Regions from separate parts of the Homo sapiens genome. Here region 1 is linked to region 2. The links are contacts of gene promoters, found by promoter capture Hi-C in human tissues and cell types (Jung and others, 2019). All regions are on one chromosome and are shown on one strand. The core of a region is centred on a gene start or on the middle of the fragment in contact, and the rest is flanking DNA. Distances in the headings are between cores, read along the strand shown. Region 1 overlaps ABCC9 (ATP binding cassette subfamily C member 9). Region 2 holds the start of ABCC9 (ATP binding cassette subfamily C member 9).

Region 1 (5,799 bases), core at 2,400-4,899, 74 kb before region 2:
GAGCTGAAGAGAATGATGGGAAGGGCAGGTCAGTTTAAAAGTCAGATTTCCACAGTTAGTTCATGATCTGTAAAGTACTGATGAAGGAAATAGGGTTAAAAGAGAGCAAGGTTAAAAAAGAGAGTAGCTAGAAATGTTCAATGATCTTTCTAAAACATTACGTCTTAGGAGTGTAGAAGACATGATACTATATAGTATGCTAGCAGTCTCTGAGATAATCATATGCAGAGTAAAACAATGGTTCCCAACCTCTGACATGCCTGCTTTCCCCCCCACCCCACTCAGCTCTTTAAGGTTTTTGTTTTTGTTTTTCCTTTTAAGTAGATAAAGCACTTGGCTCTTCATCTCTACCTTACAGATGGATCCCATCACTGTTCAACTCATAATCAATATATGTATTAATTCTTACATTTTTATTTTATGAAATCCCAAACCCAGTTTACTGAGGATAGTTTGAGTTTCAGCCAAAGTTGGGACACGTGTGACTCAGTGAGAGGAAAACAGTTGACACAAGGAGCCACTTTGTTTGGTAAATTAGTTCTTTTAGCAGCTTGTCAAGGTTGCGAACCACTGCTGTTGGAAATATGCTAGCACACTTTAATAAATAACTATACATTATCAGAGTAAGCAAAATGAGATTAAAGAGATTAAAGTCTGAGGAAGGAAGTTATTCTTATTAAACTCAGGTTAAAATAGAAATAATACCTTCTGGTTGCTTCAAAAGAAGGCTCAGATTCATTTACACTGCAAGTATGGCAAACAATGTTCATTAATTATGAAGTAGAAATATAGAACCAATGTGCATACACGTCAGGTAAGAGATACAATAAACACTGGACATATTAAAGAGCACATTTCCCAAATGGTTTCTGATATTAATTTCAAAGACAAACCAGATAAGTAGTATTCTTCTTTATGTCTTCATCAGCTAGGAAATAATTGCTTAGTAAGCTTCTAAAACATAGATAGCACTGTTCTCTTTCATAAAAATTTTGGTTCATACAATGACTGGGTTCTAGTGCTAACCCTGCTCCAAACAGCTGTAAACTTGGGGAATCCCTCTAGAATACAGTTTCCCGTTTCATAAGGACTCTGTATTTCCAAGGCCTTCCAACCTTTAAAATTTGAATTCAATAAATTTAAATTCCAAATTAGCTACCCTAAGGTAGCAGCAGAAATACTTTTTGGGCACTAAACACGAAAGATACACAAAACACACTGGCCCCTCAGGAGCTTGTAAGAAAAACAGACATGCACCAGAAACCAAACTACATCTAAGTAGAATCAATTATTGATATGATTTATGTAAAAAGTGGGCTTTGGTCACAATTTGTTATGCCTGTATTATGAGGAAAGACACCTGAAGACCTATTTCTTTTATTGTTCTAATTTTTTATAATTTAGGGTCAGTTGAATTCAATAACATACACATTACAGACGTGAATTCAATAACCATACAAATAATTAAAGCCTACAGAAACTCCAAAAATTGATTCTATTTGACTTTGCAAAATGTTGTATGTTTTTGTGGAGAAAATTTACCTAATTATGCTACCTAATGATATTTGGTTTAGAGTTACTAAGGATCATTTTCACTACTGCACACTGCTAATGACATCTTGGGATGGCTGACAGAGGCAAAAAAGGCAACCTCAGACTAAAAATTTCCTCCCAATAATAATTGTTCCCTGATTTAAGTTACTGATAAAAAATAGGGAAATGATCATTTTTATGAATAATATTTTCCACGCAATATGCTTTAGATAACAAGAAATTTGGACTTTGTTTTCTGTGGTATAAATCCAATGGGTGACCTCACTAGTTTTAACTAATTTGAGGAAGACAGGGAAGAGAGAAGAGTGAGTATGTGGCAGAAATGAATGTGTTAATTTGTATTCTGGCCATTCAAGTGGAAATGCCCATTAGACATGTGTAAATACCTGTTGGACATTTGAGAATGTCAGCCCAACGCAGAGATATGGATTAAGAATTCATCAATCTATTCAATAAAGGTTGGTTAAATTCCGACTCTATTTATTCAGTATCAGTTAAAAAATATGCATTGATCACTTCCTAGTGCCACACGTTAGAGATACAGCAAACAAGAAAGATCCACTCCTTCTTTCACACCACTTTCACTTTTGTGGGAGCATAATAAGGGAATAAGGGCTGAGACAGGTGGGGTAAAAGATGGTAGTAGGGCACTGATCAAGAACCAACAACCAAAAACAAAGAAGCAAAGAACCAGAGCACCAAGCCACTTTTAGCAAATCAGAGTAAACAATAGAGTTGATGTCAGAGGGAAAATTAAGAGTGTGCTAGATGAAAAAAAAAAAAGCCAAGAGTACTTCAGACCAGAGAAAATATGTATTAGAAGGCCATGAGGTATCCTGATTACACAAAGAAGTGATGTATATTCAGCATGGCTGAAATGTAGGTGTAAATGGCAATGAACTTAAAAAGTAAGCACAGCCAGATAATGAAGGGGCTCATAATCCATTTTATAGAGCTTGAACTTTTCCTAAAAGTAAAAGAAAACTACTGAAAAAGGTTTAAACAAGAGAGAGATACAGGTTCAATTTAGAAATATCACTGTGATCACAGAATGTAACAACTGAACTAGAGGGAACAAGACTGGAGATCATAAAAGAAATCCTTTGCCAACCTCACAGATTTGACTCAGTCAAGTCACCTATAATCGTTCTTATAAAACACTGTACTTCTTCCTAGTCTTTATAAAACATTAATAAAATAACCATAAAATTATTTTCTTACTTCCTCTTGGTTTCCCCTGCTAAACAGTAAGCTTCATGAAAATAGGGGCCTGCCTTCTCTTGTTCACTTATTTCTCCCCCAACTTAGAACTAATACAATGATTTGCATATAAATGGTGTGCAACAAATATTTTTTAACAAATTAATAAATGCAAGGGTCACGGAAACCAAGAAGCCAAGTTGATTTCAAGGAGTCGTCGATGGGTGAAGAGTTTCAAAATCTATGGAGAAGTAGGACTGAGGACAAATTATTGGGAGTTAGCACTTAGGCAGTCATTGGTGAGACCCTCTCATCCAGGTTGCAATGCACAGAGTAAAAGAGAAGAACAGAGGTTAAGTGTGGGTGGACTAGGTCGTTAAAAAGAGAAATGTTCCAGTTGATTGAGAGATAAGAAAGACCATTATTTAAAAAATGGGTGGGGAATAATGGAGTGTGAAGAGCAATAAATAAAGACATTTATAAGAGAAAAGGGTTAATTAATGCAGTAAGGTCCTGAAAAAAGCAAAACAGCACATAGGGGATCTTCACTTCTGAAAACCTCTCCTTGAAGGATTTACGTATATTTTCCTTTTCTTTCAGAGAAAGAAAAAAAGAGGTAAACTTAGACTCATTTGTAGGTAATCATCTTCCAAAAACAAATTAACCCATTATTTCACTAACATTTTTATGAATAATGTTATAATCCTTAACTTCCAGAGACTACCTATTCCGGCCCTCTCACATATCAATATGTTTAATCAAATTCAGTTGTGGAAGGTTATATAATTTCTCTTCCAAAATAAAGAAGTAGATTTAGCTCTGTCTAGACTCATCCTCCACCATTCAATGTGGTACTCTACAGCACTCAAGACAACAGGAGAATGCAAAGAGGTCATATAGAAAATCCCCTTCTAGAAAACAGAATAAAGTTTCACTTCTGAAAACCTCTCCATGTAGAATTTGTGTGTATTTTCCTCCCAGAGTAAAAGTTAAAGTCGACACAGTGTATTAGCAACTTCCAAGTATTATGGTTAATAATATTATGGAATGGGAGAGTGACTTTTGCAAATTTAAATCAGGAATGACATTTGGAAGAAGGGAAACTAGATGCTGGCACAAACATGATATATTACATCTGACCCAGGAAAGCTGACTTAATATTATTATTCCTTCATGCCAGGAAAGTCACATGAAAAGGAATATTTCCTCCATTTGTCTGAAAATAATTGAAGCACTGTTACAAAGCTGATTACACTAAGATGTTGGGAGATAGAATGTCAGGACAGAAGGGGCCTGAAGAGGAGGATGGTTGATGGCATGGGTGAGAGGGAAAAGAAAAAAAAAAAAAAAGGAAAACAAAGATAAATGACAAGCTGTTTCTCACATCATTACCACCACAATTAAAAAGCATTCTGGACACTCCTCTGAAACTATTCATCAGATAAGGCATTTTAGTTCTAGCTCCTAAGATATCAGTAGAAATTATTGTTTATCATGACAACCAGGAAAGGACTTCAGTCAGGCAGAACATTTGTTTTTCAACAAATATGAAGCACACTTGGATGCAAGATTGATGTGCACATTGGCATTCTGACAATTTTGGAGAATTTTTTTCATTCCTCTCTCCTCTCTCTCATCTTTTCTCTTCTGGGTCTACAATATGTCAGACTAGGTCAAAGGAAGCAATTCCCAAGGAAACAACTATCGGCATCTGTATGTTCCACGTTCTACCCACACAGGTGTGTGCTGGATGAACAACAATGCCTTTTCTCCGGCCCAAAGTAAATATTTCCTGCTGCAGTAGGTCAGAGTACTTTACTCGATTTTGTTCATGCCTGTGCATGAGGACACATTCAAAAATAAAATTTATGGCCGGGCACGGTGGCTCACGCCTGTAATCCCAACACTTTGGGAGGCCGAGACAGGCGGATTATGAGGTCAGGAGATCGAGACCATCCTGGCAAACACGGTGAAGCCCTGTCTCTACTAAAAATACAAAAAATTAGCCAGGCATGGTGGCAGGCACCTGTAGTCTCAGCTACTCAGGAGGCTGAGGCAGGAGAATGGCATAAACCCAGGAGGCCGAGCTTGCAGTGAGCCAAGATCATGCCACTGCACTCCAGCCTGGGCAACAGAGTGAGACTCTGTCTCAATAAATAAATAAATAAAATTTATGCAATCAGAGACACATGTAATGGTGAAAGAATGATAGCAAAGTATTTGGTGTCTTACCATATCATTTAGTTTATTGTTTTGGTTTGTTTTGAGCTTTAAAAAAAACGAATTCAGTCTGTTGAAGTAAAGGACTTCTAAGCATTTACACAGCAGCAGCTTATGAATATCAATAATTTCTAAATTAGCTTAGCTTTAATTAATAGTTATATGCCTTTATTGGACTGGGCATACAGCTTTTGTTTCTGGAATGAAAAGAGTAATTACAAATAACTCTTTAAAAGAATGTCAGTATCCTCTGAATCTTCTTGATCCTAAAATATGTTTTATCAGATATTAAGGATATTATGAAAAAAATAAGTAATTCTTTTAATTAAATAAAAATAGAATTTGCATTAACTTATTCAATCTATTAGAATATTACATTTTCATTTGTTTGTGTGTTGAACCAACTTAAACATTTTTGAAGAAAACTTCGGTCCTTTCTGCAGCGAAGAGATAGCATTGTTGTCTAGTAAGGCAAATGCTCATAAAAAGATAATTTTTAGGTTACAGGAATTTTATAAATACTCAGAATTATCTCAATTTCCTTCTTACACTTTCATCCTGCTGGCTGACTCCAAAGTATATGCTGAATCTATTCACTTTGGTTCATTCCACAGCTACCATGTTACATCAAACTACCTTCATCTCTCATCTGAATTAGTGAAATGAACTCTTAAATGGTTTCCCGCACTTTCCCTCTTGCCTCTGTAATTCATTCTTCACACCACAAGTCCGAATCATTTTTTCAAATTGTACATCATATCTTTGCAAAAATGTAAATCACTCCTCTACTTAAACTTCTACAATATTTTCCCACTGAACTTAGAA
Region 2 (6,566 bases), core at 1,122-3,621:
GTAGTCTCAGTAGCTGTGGGTATATTGTAGGGGTATATGATCTAAAAGATAGGAAAATAAGAAATGATGCAATCAAACAAAAGTGTAAACTTCAAGTTGGTACAGTAAACGCTTTAGAACGATTTTTCTGTCTGCCATAAACTCTAACTTCACATTTCCGGCCGGCTCTGAACCTGTGCATTACCTTACCGCATGTCTCCTTTCACCTTTTCTTTTGACTCCTCATTTATCCTTTCCCTTTAACCCGTAGTCTCCTTATCCAACATCCAGAGTCCATGTGGCACTCTAACAGCCAGCCTCCATTACAACCCAACATGGACAAAAAGAGGGAGGCAGTAAACTTATTGCTGATATATTGATAATTATTGTGTTTATCAAAGGCATTTTATTCAATCCACGTTCCTAATCCTTAAATTTCCAATTGTCATTTAATGTTTCCCTCCCAGACACCAGGTTCAATTGGGAATGTTTGGGGAAGGGTATAAATCGCTGTTCTTGCTGGCTAAACTCTGTCACCTGACATCCTTCAGCTCCACCCCTTCTGGAGCTGTTTAGATTCAGCTAAGCACTGAGGGAGGCCCAAGCATCAAGGAGAGAGAGAGAAGGGAGAGCAGATGGGGAGATATAATGTTTCCCTTTCCACAAGCATAAGCCATCGAAATATGCTCAGTTGTTTATGAGAGGTGATAGAGTTGGAGAACTTGACTGAATAAACTTTAAAAACAAAGATCAAAGTGAAATTTTGCTTCTAACGTATGTCTATGGAGCAGAAAACATAAAATAGAAATACTCCTAATTATCTAACTTACGATTTCATGGCAAGAATCGCACCCTCAGTGTTTTTATTCCTCGAAATGCATTACATGAAATTCCACACATCTAGAACATATACATTTTGGATTTAGTTGGTGAATATAATACCTGACCTATCCAGTCTGTTGGTTCCTCTGCAAGACACGAGCAGTAGTTATCTGATTTAATTCTAAAAACACATTTAAGTGCTGAGGCATATAAGGTACACCATTTATTGTGGCCAGCCCTGTCCTTTGGAAATAGACTACAAGTAAAGCAAGTGAAAACTTGTCTTCCTTCCTGTTCACTTAGCAGAAAGCGTTAGTTCTGATCGAATAGCAATTGCAGAGAGTTTAAAATGCTGGAAACACCTGGAGAAAACATGCTAAATTTAAATAAAAGTTTTCATTCTTACATATAAAAGGATTCATTCTTTAATCGTTTAGAGATTAACCAAATTCTGTTATGAAAGAGAAGCAGGACATTTTAAAGAACTTAGGGCTTTATCATCATCTAGAGCATTTTCAGGATGGATGTCACTTGCAAAAACAAATGCTGTAATCACTTCTTTGAAGTTATTCAGTCCCTAGTTCATGAAATAAAAACTAGAAGATGTATAGCTAGTTAGCTAGCTACCATGGCTATAACTATGACAGATCCAAGTGGGAAAATCACTGGCAAAAATGACCACTGACTTCTGACTTAGTGCCTGATCTGAATCCACCCATTTACTCTTCAGTGGCTGTGAAGTACCATCCCACACCAAAAGAAATGTTGAAATTACTCAGTAGGTATTCCTTAGATACTGCAATGGGATTTTAAAAAAAATCCCAAACTGAACAAATAAAGCAAAAAATAAATACCTTGGGCAATAGCTTCACGCTGCTTCAAACCCCTGCCGGTGCACTTGAGCTACCTTCAAAACACCGACTTCCTACACTGTCTTAAGATGTAAATTTCAAACCCGGACGCAGAACTCCTAAAAAAAAGTAAAGAGTAACAAAAATTAAGCAGATAGAAAACTACTTCTTGAACATACAAGAATTGTCTACAAGAAAGGCGGTAATAATAACTCCTAATAATAATAACTCCTTTCACTGTTTCCAGTTGATTTGAGTAGGAGACGGCAGTTTTGAAGTAAAACTGGAAACCTGATCCCCACCCCTTCACTTCTCGAGCCGGGCCTCGTCCCTTAATTCTAGAAATAGCGATCGCGAAAGCTAAGTGCCGAGAAGTGCGAGAGAGTGCGAGGGCGTTTTTGGATAGCAGAAATGTTAGCTCAAAATCGACAACTTACAGTTATTCCTAAAAATGTTTAAATGGCATTCATGTAAAAGACACGGATTCACTTACTCCGATGACAGTTTTCCTCCCCTAGGCGAAGCACGCAGTGCGCCGGAACGGATTATTTTTAGGGTGGTGGGAGACCAGCTGCTGCCTCCTATCGAGTTTCTAAATTGCACAGACTGCTCTGGGCCGGGGCAGACACCGCGGCTGAGAAGCAGGAAACTGGGCAGAAGCCCCGCGCGCCGCGCCTGGGGCCGGAGACCTTCCCCATCCCTGCTCTGCTCAGCTTTGACTTGGGGCGGGCGCGACGCCGCGATTTTACAAACCCAAGTAATAGGCGTCCCCTTAAACTTCATTAGACACTGAAACTTGGAATATGATTCCATGATTCTCCGGAGTCGGGTTTTCAAACGTCAAAACACTCAAGGTATTCTTGTTTCTTTGTTTTGTTTTTCCATGCTCTGTAAGCACCCCTTTATTAGCCACGTAAGGAAGCGGATTTGGGGATTTCGCTGTTTCCCCCTGAACGGATCCGGGAAATGAAGGGCTCATTCTAGGTAGAGGCACCCACTGCTGGGTTATGAGTGCACGAATGTCTCACAGGAGCAAGGCTGGCTCAAGTCTAATTTTCCGCTTTTCCCCGGCGACCTAGAAAACTTGGTTTCTCTGGTGGACCAGCCGCCGCGCTATCGAAGGGCGACCCTTGCCCACCGTCCCCTAAAGTGAGACGCTGATTCCCATGGACTGCGTAAACAGTCACCCTCTTCTCCTGTTTCCAACCAGAGACATAATTAACTCTCGAGATAACGTGTTTATATTAAGATCACCCCACAACCACTCCCCCGCGAAACACAAGCCGTGAATTTTGTCCCCGACAACCCTCTTTAATTAACACCGGATTTTCTCAAGAGCCAGTTTTGAGTCAGCTTGAGATAAGCATTGTTTTCAGGAACTGTCGTATTTTAATAAAGGATGGTCAGCCGGGCGGACTTCTGCCCCTGAGGCTCCGCATGCCGTCCTCAAGGGGCGCCGCTGCAGGACTGCGGTCTGCTGGCGCTGGTCCCCAGATCTGAACCCTAAACACCGGTGGCCTCGTGGCCTGTGCGATGCAGGCCGACTCCAGCCCTGCCAGTCCCAGGGGATTTCTCCGCCGGCGCCCCACTCTTGGGAAGGTCGCTGCGCTTCCGGGTGAGTGCCTGACCTGCGTCAGCGGCTGGGACTTGAACCCGCGGCCGCTAGGAATCTGCGAGGCCATATGGGGCCGAAACCTGGGAGGGTCCGAAGACTCCGTTCCTGTGGCCTTTGAACGCTTGACAACTTTACCCTGGAGCTGTCTGCAGCGGCGCAGGGAAATAAGAGAGCGTTTCAACAGTGAGGATCCTGGTACTATGGATGCAGCCCAGGGTGGCCGGGTGAGCAAGCTGGACGCGAGGCCAGAGGCTCTCCAGGGCATCTATGGAGAGAGAACTGGAAATAGGGGGTGCCAATAATCCCAAGATGAAAACTCTTGAGTGTGACTACACAAAATGAAGTTTACTTGAGGATTATAAAAGAATATTACAATTCATTAAGGTCATTTACAATGTTTAAAAATCATGCTTATTGTAGAAACTTTGGAAGATGTGAAAGTGTACAGAGGAGATCAAGGAGCCCCCCGTAGATGCACCTGTGCACACACACCCATAAAACTACTGAAAACATTTTTTTTTATGTTTTAACAAACACAGGCGGTATGGTGCATTGATTAAGAGTGTGGACTAGGAAGGCAGCCTGCTCGATATCACATCCTGCTAGTTAGTTCAGAGACTGAACAAGTCACATAAACCCTCTGTGTATCAGCTTCCTCCTCTGTTTAATGGGACAATAAAGATAAATAATTTAAATAAATATAGAATAATTTTTAAAATAATTTAAATGGCTATATACTATTCCATTGAAAGGCTATACCATAAGATTCATTTTCCCGTTGTTTGACATGTATTTGCCCAATTTTACTAATATCTGTGATCATATGATGACCTTTTTTCATAAACTTTTTTTCTTTCTAACAAGTAATGTTTTAAGATAAATTATGTGAAAAATAATTACGGGATCAAAAGTGGTAGATATTTTTAAGGCTGTCAACATAGAATGCAAAATCACCCTTCTATGAAGTTCGTATTAAGTCCCCCAAATTGTATGAGATGAGCTATTACACTTATACTCAAACCAGCATTGGATATTGCTATTTTTTATTTTAAAAAAATATTTTAACTTGACAGATAATATTCAATTCTGTTATTCACATTCAACATTTCCCCACTATTGATTAATCTTTGTATCCCCTCTTTTGTGGCAGTTTGTTCACATACTTGTGTACCTCATGGGTCTTAATGAAGTTTACCATTTGTATAAATGTTTCATAAGAGTATACTAATCAAATGTTTAATAAGAGGATACTAATCCTGCTTCATATATGACACATTTTTCCCAATTTGTCATATTGTTAAAAAATGATAGTGCTGCTGCCTTTCAAAAAAGTAAGAAAAAAGTTTTCATGTGTTCTGTAAAGATTTATTAGAGCACACACTATGTGCTAGACATAGAAGCTAGTGATGAGTCAGATCTCTAGGGTCTATTGCACTTCATTGAACTTTCTCCTAAGGGAAATTTTACGTAGGCAAATTTGCTGCTTGTTGCCTTTGCAATGTATTAGAACACTTTAGTTAATAAATATTTACCTTCATTTATATTTGTTTAAAGGCTTTAGTAAAAATTTGATTTTGGAATTTATTTTGGCATACACTATGGGATGAAAATCTGCATTTATACTTTATTTGTTACACCAACACCATTTACTGAATAATCTTTTTCTTCTGCATTGTGGTGTAATACCACTTTTGTCATATACACATAATTAGTTCATAATAAGATCTGTTTCCGGGCTACCTATTCTGTTCAATTGATCTGTTTCAATTTTTTATTATATTGCTATGATTAGACTGATTTGATTATCAGAGATTAAATTATATTGTAACCCTGACAGTGCCAGTCCCCTTTTCACTCTTTTCAAAATTTTCAAAGCTCCTCTCTTTTGGGGATTTTATTGGAATTTCATTAAAACTAGGAAGTAATTTATAAAGAACATATTTTTAGTGCTTTGTCTCTTCACCCAGAAATGTAGTTTCCCATTTATTTGTCTTCCTTTTATCCCAGTATTAAATTTATACAGGTCTGTGCATATTTTGTAAAGATTGATCATACAAATTTCATATTTTTGTTTTAATATTTTGTACTGCTATTAAGGATGTACTATTTATTTTGTCCAAAAAAAGTATATTTATCTTATATCCAGACACTTTATTAAGACTTCTCAGTAATCCCAGAGCTATTTCACCCTGTTACCTTGACTTTCCAGAAATACGATTTCATCTGCAAATAGTGGTACCCTTCCATTTTAAAATACTTACAGCTTGTTTGCATTTTATCTCTAATCTTCATTAAATACATTCCAGAAGTGTTAAATAATACAAGAAGATAAACCATTGTTTCTTTCAGAAATATATACAATATATTTTTAAATCAACATTGTAAGTATAATTTTCATGAAATAAAAAGTATCCATGATACATGTAAAATCCAAAGTCTTTTGAAATAACCATGATCCCAAAAAGATACAAAGTATTTCTATCTCCCAAGGAAGTTATCTTGTGCCTTTAACTAGTCAGTCTAACTGTCTCTCACTTAGGGTAACAAGTGACCTGAAGTCTATCACTGGAGATTAGTTCACAAATGTCATATAAAAGGAGTCATACAGTACATACTCCCTTGTGTCTGGCTTCTTTAGGTAAGCATAATATTTTTGAGATTCATCCATGTTGTTGTATATATGAATAGTTTATTCCTTTTATTGCTGAGTAGAATTTCACTGTATGAATATGCAGTTTGTTTATTCGTTCACCTATCTGTATACGTTTGGGTTATTTCCAGTTTTGGGCAGTGATGAATGAAGTTTCGGTGAACCGTTTTGTAAACATAGGTGTTTTGTTTTTTTTTTCCTCTTGGGTAAATATTAAGCAGTAGATTTGCTGAGTCATATGGTAACTATACATTTAACTTTACAGAAATTACCAAAATGTTCTTCAAAGTCATTGAAACATTTTACATTCCCTCCAGAAAAGTATGGCACTTGCTTCACAATCTTGCCAATATTTAGTATTATCTTGTTCTTTTTCTAAATTTTAGCCCTTATATTGCATGTGGACTGGTTCTTGATTGTGGTTTTAATTTGCATCTACCTTATAACGAATGATTTTGAACACATATTTTCATGGTGTTACTGGTCATTTATATATTTTTTCATGGTAGGCACAACTCTAAGGTGGCTCCCATGACATTTACTCCTGGTGTTACTCCCGTGATTACATTATGTTACAAGACAAAAGGAATTTTGTAGATGTAATTAGGGTTACTAACTAGTTGACTTTAAAATAGGCATATTAGGGGTG

The links. The method cuts DNA at HindIII sites, captures the fragments that hold promoters and counts their contacts. A contact is called where the count stands out against the background at its distance.
Region 1: a fragment that was not itself captured here is called in contact with the fragment with the promoter of ABCC9 in region 2 in 2 of the 25 tissues and cell types used here (dorsolateral prefrontal cortex and heart left ventricle).

Annotation. Positions count from the first base shown.
Region 1 is chr12:21,863,734-21,869,532 of GRCh38, forward strand. ABCC9 (ATP binding cassette subfamily C member 9) reads right to left here. Exons shown (of 40, transcript NM_020297.4): 19 at 706-744. Among named protein-coding and RNA genes, the nearest start is that of ABCC9, 75 kb to the right of the region's middle. The HindIII fragment of the contact is 8,385 bases long and covers 1-5,799 here.
Region 2 is chr12:21,939,055-21,945,620 of GRCh38, forward strand. It overlaps ABCC9 (ATP binding cassette subfamily C member 9), which reads right to left and starts at 2,372. Exons shown (of 40, transcript NM_020297.4): 1 at 2,146-2,372; 2 at 1,656-1,771. RefSeq lists an enhancer at 1,805-2,782. The HindIII fragment of the contact is 18,026 bases long and covers 1-6,566 here.